2 separate regions of the Homo sapiens genome follow, and region 1 is linked to region 2. The links are contacts of gene promoters, found by promoter capture Hi-C in human tissues and cell types (Jung and others, 2019). All regions are on one chromosome and are shown on one strand. The core of a region is centred on a gene start or on the middle of the fragment in contact, and the rest is flanking DNA. Distances in the headings are between cores, read along the strand shown. Region 1 overlaps LOC124904625 (a long non-coding RNA gene). Region 2 holds the start of RANBP3 (RAN binding protein 3).

Region 1 (3,862 bases), core at 218-2,717, 1.1 Mb after region 2:
GAGGCAGAGCTTTCAGTGAGCCGAGATCGCGCCGCTGCACTCCAGCCTGGGCGACAGAGTGAGACTCCATCCCAAAAAAAAATAAAAATAAAAATCCATTCAGATAAGGGACTGGCAGAGAGAAAGCAGAATGTGGAATGGATGTGGAAGAATTAAATTCAGTCCTGAAGACCAGGTCCCAAAGCAGGAATAGAAGACAGCTATGCTTTGGGTTTGGGTTTTTTAAAAAATCTTTAATTTTTTCCGCTTTTTCCCTGGTTCCCCACCACCACCATCACCATTTTATATGAAGAGTCCTGGTTGTGGCCAAAGCTTAAGGTTTCTGATGGGAATACGACCAAATGACATTATCCCAACAGTAGCTTCCTTTGTATCTCTTTTTTTTTTTTTTTTTTTTTGAGATGGAGTCTCACTCTGTCACACAGGCTGGAGTGCAATGGTGCCATCTCTGCTCACTACAACCTCCGCCTCCTGGATTCAAGCGACTCTCCTGCTTCAGCCTCCCGAGTAGCTGGGACTACAGGCACACGCCAGCACACCCGGCTAATTTTTGTATTTTTAGTAGAGATGGGGTTTCACTATGTTGGCCAGGCTGGTCTTGAATTCTTGACCTTGTGATCCGCCCACCTCGGCCTCCCAAAGTGCTAGGATTACAGGCGGGAGCCACCGCGCCCGGCCCCCTTTGTATCTTATGTAGGGACATGAACTTAGCGCCAAGTGAAGGACAAGAATTGATATCCAAAATCCAATAGATTTTTCTTTTAAATACCTGAAAGTGAAACTGGCCCAATTTTCCCATATTGCTGATGTTTATGGTTTCCTTGAATAAACAAACAAATTGATCTTCCCAATCTTAAAACTTAAGAAAGTTACATTTATCTTATCTGAGTTCCTTTCTCAGGAAACCAACCATCAGGCCTCCCAGATAGTATCTAGGAGCTGAAACGCACCAGAATACTGCATTTGTACAGTGAGACATCAGACCCATCACCCATCATGATTGCCTAACTGACCACCTGCTTCCTGTTGACCAACTCCTCTTCCTTACCCTTCCCTAATTCCTGTATTCCCACACATGGTAACATTTCTTCCCTGCTATATAAACCTCAAATTTTAGTTGGTCAGGGAGATGGATTTGAGATTGTTCTCCCACCTCCTCAGCTGCAGCAGCTGATTAAAGCCTTCTTCCTTGGCAATACTCATTGTCTCAGCGATAGGCTTTCTGTGCAGTGGTGAGCAGCAGGACCTAGATTGAACCCCTGGTGTTTCAGCAACAACATAGTTCATCACCAGCAGAACTGCACTTCAAGAAACACTAAAGAAAGTTTTGGGCCAGACACGGTGGCTCACACCTGTAATCCCAGCATTTTGGGAGGCTGAGGCAGGTGGATCACCTGAGGTCAGGAGTTCGAGACAAGGCTGGCCAACATGGCAAAACCCCATCTCTGCTAAAACTACAAAAAAAAAAAAAAATTAGCTGGGCGTAGTGGCGGTCGCCTATAATCCCAGCTACTTGGGAGGCTGAGGCAGGAGAATTGCTTGAACCCAGGAGGTGGAGGTTGCAGTGAGCTGAGATCGCACCGTTGCTTTCCAGCCTGGGCGATGGAGCGAGACTCTGTCTCAAAAAAAAAAAAGAAGGAAGGAGGGAGGGAGGGAAGGAAGGAAGGAAGGAAGGAGAAGGAAAGAAAGAAGGAAAGTTTTGGGGCTGGAGGAAAATTATTCCATGTGGAAGCAATTCCAGAAATATATAAGGATAATCAGGAAAGATAAAATGTGAGCAAATACAAATAAATATTGACTGTATAAATCAAGCCTGTATAGTTTTAACACTTTTATACGTCTAAATCTTTTTTTTTTTTTCAGACGGAGTCTCACTCTGTTGCCCACACTCACCTCACTGCAACTTCCGCCTCCTGGGTTCAAGCAATTCTCTTGCCTCAGCCTCCAAGTAGCTGCAACTACAGGTGTGCACCACCACGCCCAGCTAATTTTTGTATTTTTAGTAGAGATGGGGTTTCGCCATGGTGACCAGGCTGGTCTCAAACTCCTGACCTCAAGTGATCCATCTGCCTTGGCCTCCCAAAAGTGTTAGGATTATAGGCGTGAGCCAACGTGCCCAGCCCTAATTTTTTTTTTTTTTCAAATAAAAAGAGTTTTAAATCACATTGAACTGGTCCCTTAAAACTAGAGATAATAGAAAGCATGGCAAGCCATTTCCCAGTCCCCCTAAGACTAGAGATTATGGAAGCCCCAGCAAGTGATTCTCACAATCTGCATACAGCAGTAGAGCTGACAGAAGCCCTAGCAGGTAACCACCAGTCACCCTCAAAACAAGAGGCAACAGGATGCCAGATCTCCACCCCTCAATCACTTACAAACACAAAAGATGGAGTCCAAACATGAAGACCTCCGTCATCGCGAAACTACTCCAGCAAGCACCCCTCAGTCACGTCCAAAACTATAACAGAAGTCCCTGAAATGACCCCTTCAGATGCCCCTCAACACTAAAGAATGGGGACTCCAAGCCCAATGGCCTACCCAGTCTATACCAACAGTACAGGCAAGCGGAGACCCAGAATATGACCCTCCCCAACTAGAGATAAGTGGAACCCCATCCAATAATCCCTCCATCCTCTCCCCAAACAATACACAGTAAGGCCTCTATCTGATAAATGCTCTTGACCCTTCAACACTAGAAAAAAATGGAAGCCCCAGGCACTGGCCCTCCAGTTACCTCCAACATCAGAGACAATGAAAGCTTCGCCAAGTGATTCCCCGTATCGCTCCTACATTAATGATGGAAACTCCAAAAACCAATCAACCCTCAATCCTCTACACACTCAAGAAAGGAACTCCAGGCTGGGTATGGTGGCTCACGCCTGTAATCCCAGCACTTTGGGAGGCCAAGGCGGGTGGATCACGAGATCAGGAGTTCGAGACCAGCCTGACCAATATGGTGAAACCGTCTCTACTAAAAATACAAAAATTAGCCGGGCGTGGTGACACGTGCCTGTAGTCCTAGCTACTCAGGAGACTGAGGCAGGAGAATCTCTTGAACCCGGGAGGCAGAGTTTGCAGTGAGCCAAGATCACACCACTGCGCTCAAGCCTGGGAGACAGAGCAAGATTCTGTCTCAAAAAAAAAAAAAAAAAAAAAAAGAACTCCAGCAAATGCCACCATTCTTACCCACTACCGCTGCAACATGCATCCCTTGTCTTCCCAAGACTATAAATAAGTATCCCCAGCAATGACACCCAAAACAAGCAATGGTCAGAATCTCAACAGGCAGCCCCCCAGATTCTACAACATAAGTGACAAACTCATACCCCAGAAAACTATCTCTCTTCCCATTATCCCAAAGTAAGAGTTAATAGAAGCATCAGCAAGCAACACCCTTAACATAAACGAGGAGGGGAGCCCAGAATGCAAATCCCGTCTCCCCCAACATGAGTTGACTGCCCCTGCGGTGACCCCTCCTTTATCCCAAACACAAGGAATAATCTTAGCCCCAGCAGGCAACTCCTGCAGCCTCCCCTTGCAATATGAGTATCTCTACCCTCACAATATAGATTGATAGAGCCCTATCAAGCCAAGTGTCCCCTGCTAGGGGAATGTTGGGTACTCCAGTCTCAGAACATGGAAGACGATGGTAGTCCTGACAAGCTGGCAAATACTCTAAGCTCCCATAATACAGGAGGTGATACAGCCCAGCAAGCAAACCTTCCAACATTTCCTGCACCCAGCAGACCCTTATCAGCTGCATTCCCAGTTGACTCTCAGAGCATCTCCTGCTCGCTCACTAGAAGCAAAGAAAGACTAGAGTTGGGGGTAAGGCTGAGAGGAAGAGAGAGGGGAGAAGGGT
Region 2 (3,734 bases), core at 975-3,474:
AGCAAGGCAGCAGAGAGTGGCGAGAGAGAAGGACAGGGACATATTGGGGCCCACTATGGGCTGAGAAGTTCTCAGATGGGTAAGGGTGGAGGGAACGGGGGCTAAGCATTGACGGTGTTGGTGGGGAGAAGTGGTGGTCCCCCTTTGGGAATAATTTTAAGGTAGAAATGATAGTATTTGCTGTGCAGTATGAGAAAGAGGGAAACCAGGGGTGACTTCAAGGTTTGGGGCCAGAAGAATTCAAAGAATGGACCTGCCTAACTAACTACAATGGGTGAAAGACCATGGGATGGGCAGGTGTAGTGGGGGAGATAAGGATTTTGTTTTGGAAACGCTCTAGACTTACCTATGACACATCCAAATGGAGATGTCGAAATGTGATGCTGGACATGAGTCCTGAGTTCAAGAAGCTATGTGGGCTCAGGATGTAAATACATAAAATATGTCATACTGATTCCCACTTACCCAGTCCCTCTGTAACTAGATCTCATGAGTTGGAATGCTGCAACCCTCCATGGGCTCCTTTATCTTAAAAAAAGAGATGTAGCAGCCGGGTGCGGTGGCTCACGCCTGTAATCCCAGCACTTTGGGAGGCCGAGGCGGGCAGATCACGAGGTCAGGAGATGGAGACCATCCTGGCCAACATGGTGAAACCCCGTCTGTACTAAAAACACAAAAATTAGCTGGGTGTGGTGGTGCGCGCCTGTAATCCCAGCTACTCGGGAGGCTGAGGCAGGAGAATCACCTGAACCCGGGAGGCGGAGATTGCAGTGAGCCGAGATGGCGCCACTGCACTCCAGCCTGGCTACAGAGCTAGACTCCGTCCCAAAAAATAAAATAGAATAAAATGGCCAAGAATCAGGGAGAGAACCTGTGCTGCTGCCTGTACAGATGCCCAGCGCCCGCCCAACACCACACAGAATCAGAATCTGCAGGGACTGAGCACCCGTGGTCTGGCATCTGAAGCCAGGCCATCTTGGTTCACATCCCTGCTCCTTCCCAGCTGTGTGACACGCCTTGGATAAGCGACTTAACCACGTTGACTCAGTCTCCTCATCAAGTGAATGGGGCTAACAGTATCTATACCTCCTACCAGGGAAAACAGTATGTCAAGACTTTGCACCACACCTGGTAACTACCCTAAATGCTCCACAAGACCAAGCACTTCCTATCATCATTCATTCATTACTGCAATTCGGTAGGGAAAACCCTCCAGTCACAGGGAGCACCGAATGGGGGAATCAGAGCCAGACAGGTAGAGAGCTTGCCTGCATTTGTGCAACTAGAAAAGGGGGGGAGCTAAAAATAGGCCTCAGAAGTCTTGAAGCTACAGCGATGGCAACACGACTATGGATGGAAGCAGACATCAGCCTTATGGTGCCTTCTCGGGGGATCTGGAAGTGTAACCTTGTCAAAAACACTCAGGTGGGCTGTCAGCGCTCCACAGAGGAGGGACTCGCACGGTCTCTTGTCTGGAAGTGCAGCAAAAAGGGCCAAAGAGCAGCCAGGGTTTTCGGCGGCCCAGATCCTGCGGCGGGGCCTAAATGAGGGGGAGACGAAGCGCCCCGAAGGATCCGGGGGGAACTGGCGGGAAGTGGGGGCCGAAGTTCGGGGCGGGGACGGGGTGAAAACGGCCTGGGCTTCCTCCGTCCGCGGTGTGCGGCTGGCCCGCGGAGGACGAGGGCCTCACGGGCTTAGGAGATAGGCAGCCAGGCCGGGGAAGGGGAGATGCCGGGTGGCGGAGGACGAGGGGGCGGGGAGGGAGCGTGGCGCGCTCCGGGCCACAACCAGGCCCTAAGGTCTATTTACATCCGTGGCCGAAGCACTGGGGCCGCGCCTCCCGCCCCCTTCAGCCCCGAGCTTGGCTGCGACGCAGAGGGGCCTTAGGGCTGCGATCCCGATGGCCACCCGGCTCCTCTAGCCAGACGGCTGCAGTGGCTGGGGTTGCCGGGAGTGATGGGCCGGGCCGGTGAGCCCGGCCTGAGGGGACGCAATAGGGGGCGGCTGCAAGGCCCGCCACGGCGCTAGCCTGGAGCGGACGAAACCCTTGCACTCTGCGGTGCTCCCCCCAAGGGCTTGTGGCCCCTAGTCCTCCCGCCGCCCGTTCCCCGGCCGCCAGCCGGTCCCCAACGGCGCCTCCCCTACCTTCGTTCGCCAGGTCCGCCATTTTACTTCCTTAAGCCCTCCCACAAGGCCCCGCGCCGGCCCAGGCTCGCCTGCTTTCTGCCAGAAACTCCCGCGCGTGCGCACTTAACAAGCCGACTCCGTGTGAGGCGGCCAGCTCGCGCCTGCGCGCTGAATGCCGCGCGGAGGCGAGCCCCGGATCGCCTGCCCTGCAGAGCAGCCTGCCCTGACGAGCCGCGCTCCTAGCACGCACCTGCGCACGAGCCATCTCCCGCCTCCTTTTCCCGCCGACTGAGAGGGCGGGGAAAGGGCCGGGAAGGGCGCATGCGCAGTGGCAGCGACTAAGGTTTAGTGAGGCGGCACCGCGCGGCCCGAGGCGGGTCTTGAAGCACTCGTTTTCCCACTCGTTTTCCGGGGTTCCCCCGCGGTGGGACAGTGAGCAGTTCAGGGCGCCGCAGCCGAGGCCTTCCTCCAGGTAAATCGCCGGGCCTGCGGGGGCTTCCCACACGCGCGGGCGGGAGACGCGTTGCCTCCTACCTCAGTTTACCCGCCTTAGGAGCCGGTACCTTCGGCAAACGCTTTCCTGAAACCACGGGGGAAGTGGCGAGAGGGCGCGGGGTGCTTGGGATTGGGGGGTAAATCAGAGCTCATCGGCGGGGGCGGGGGTCGTGGTCAGGCTCTAGGAGGGGGCGCAGCCCTGGGACCCAGGTGCTGGCGTTGGGGGCGGGGGGAGCCGGCGCGAGGGACTCGACCCCTCGGAGCTACGAGAATCAACTTCACAAGCTCATGGGAGGGGAACCGCGCGCCTCCAGGTTACCCATCTGTAAAATGGGACCATCAGCCTCACTCACAAGGCTCATGGGAGGGTCCTGGACACCCTGGAGTTGTTCTCTACTCACCTGCTATGAATCTCTCAGCAAATCCTTCGGACTTGGCCTTGCCTCCAAAATACAGCCCAGAGCCACCCATTGTCACCCCCAGGCTGTCACCACCCTAGGCCACATCGTCCGTATCTATCTCATGGAAGACTTGGACAGCGGCCTCTCTGCTATCCTTTGCTGCATTCTTTTGAAGCCCCAGGCTTGGTTCTGCACATGGCCGCAGGCTGAGGAGTCTTTGAAAAATATAATCAGCCAGACGCGGTAGCTCACCCCTGGAATCCCAGCACTGCGGGAGGCCAAGGTGGGAGGATCGCTTGAGCTCAGTTCAAAACCAGCCTAGGCAACAGAGCAAGACCCCATCTCTACAAAAACACAAAAATTACCCGGATGTGGTGGTGCAAGCCTGTGGTCCCAGCTACTTGGGAGGCTGAGGCAGGAGGATCACTTGAGCCCAGGAGGTTGAGGCTGCAGTGAGCTGTGACAGTGCCACTGCCACCATCCTAGGGACACAGCAAGAACCTCCCCCATATATATACACATATATACTTTGTTTTTATCTATATATATACACACAGATATATACATACACGTGTGCATATATATGTGTGTGTGTGTATATATATATATATACACATAGACTGAAAATGGAAATATCAAGGCCACTCAGTGCTTCCAGAGGGCTCTCAGCTGAACTTGGAATATCCTAAACCTTGTATTCAGGTTTATGAA

What was found. The method cuts DNA at HindIII sites, captures the fragments that hold promoters and counts their contacts. A contact is called where the count stands out against the background at its distance.
Region 1: a contact is called between a fragment that was not itself captured here and the fragment with the promoter of RANBP3 in region 2, in 1 of the 25 tissues and cell types used here (dorsolateral prefrontal cortex).

Annotation. Positions count from the first base shown.
Region 1 is chr19:7,094,042-7,097,903 of GRCh38, forward strand. All of the region lies in intron 1 of LOC124904625 (a long non-coding RNA gene), which reads right to left. Among named protein-coding and RNA genes, the nearest start is that of ZNF557, 26 kb to the left of the region's middle. The HindIII fragment of the contact is 4,002 bases long and covers 1-3,468 here.
Region 2 is chr19:5,975,916-5,979,649 of GRCh38, forward strand. It overlaps RANBP3 (RAN binding protein 3), which reads right to left and starts at 2,225. Exons shown (of 17, transcript NM_007322.3): 1 at 2,146-2,225. The coding sequence starts at 2,167. It overlaps RANBP3-DT (RANBP3 divergent transcript), which reads left to right and starts at 2,488. Exons shown (of 4, transcript NR_046376.1): 1 at 2,488-2,599. RefSeq lists silencers at 2,009-2,118, 2,349-2,518, 2,569-2,618. The HindIII fragment of the contact is 11,015 bases long and covers 1-3,734 here.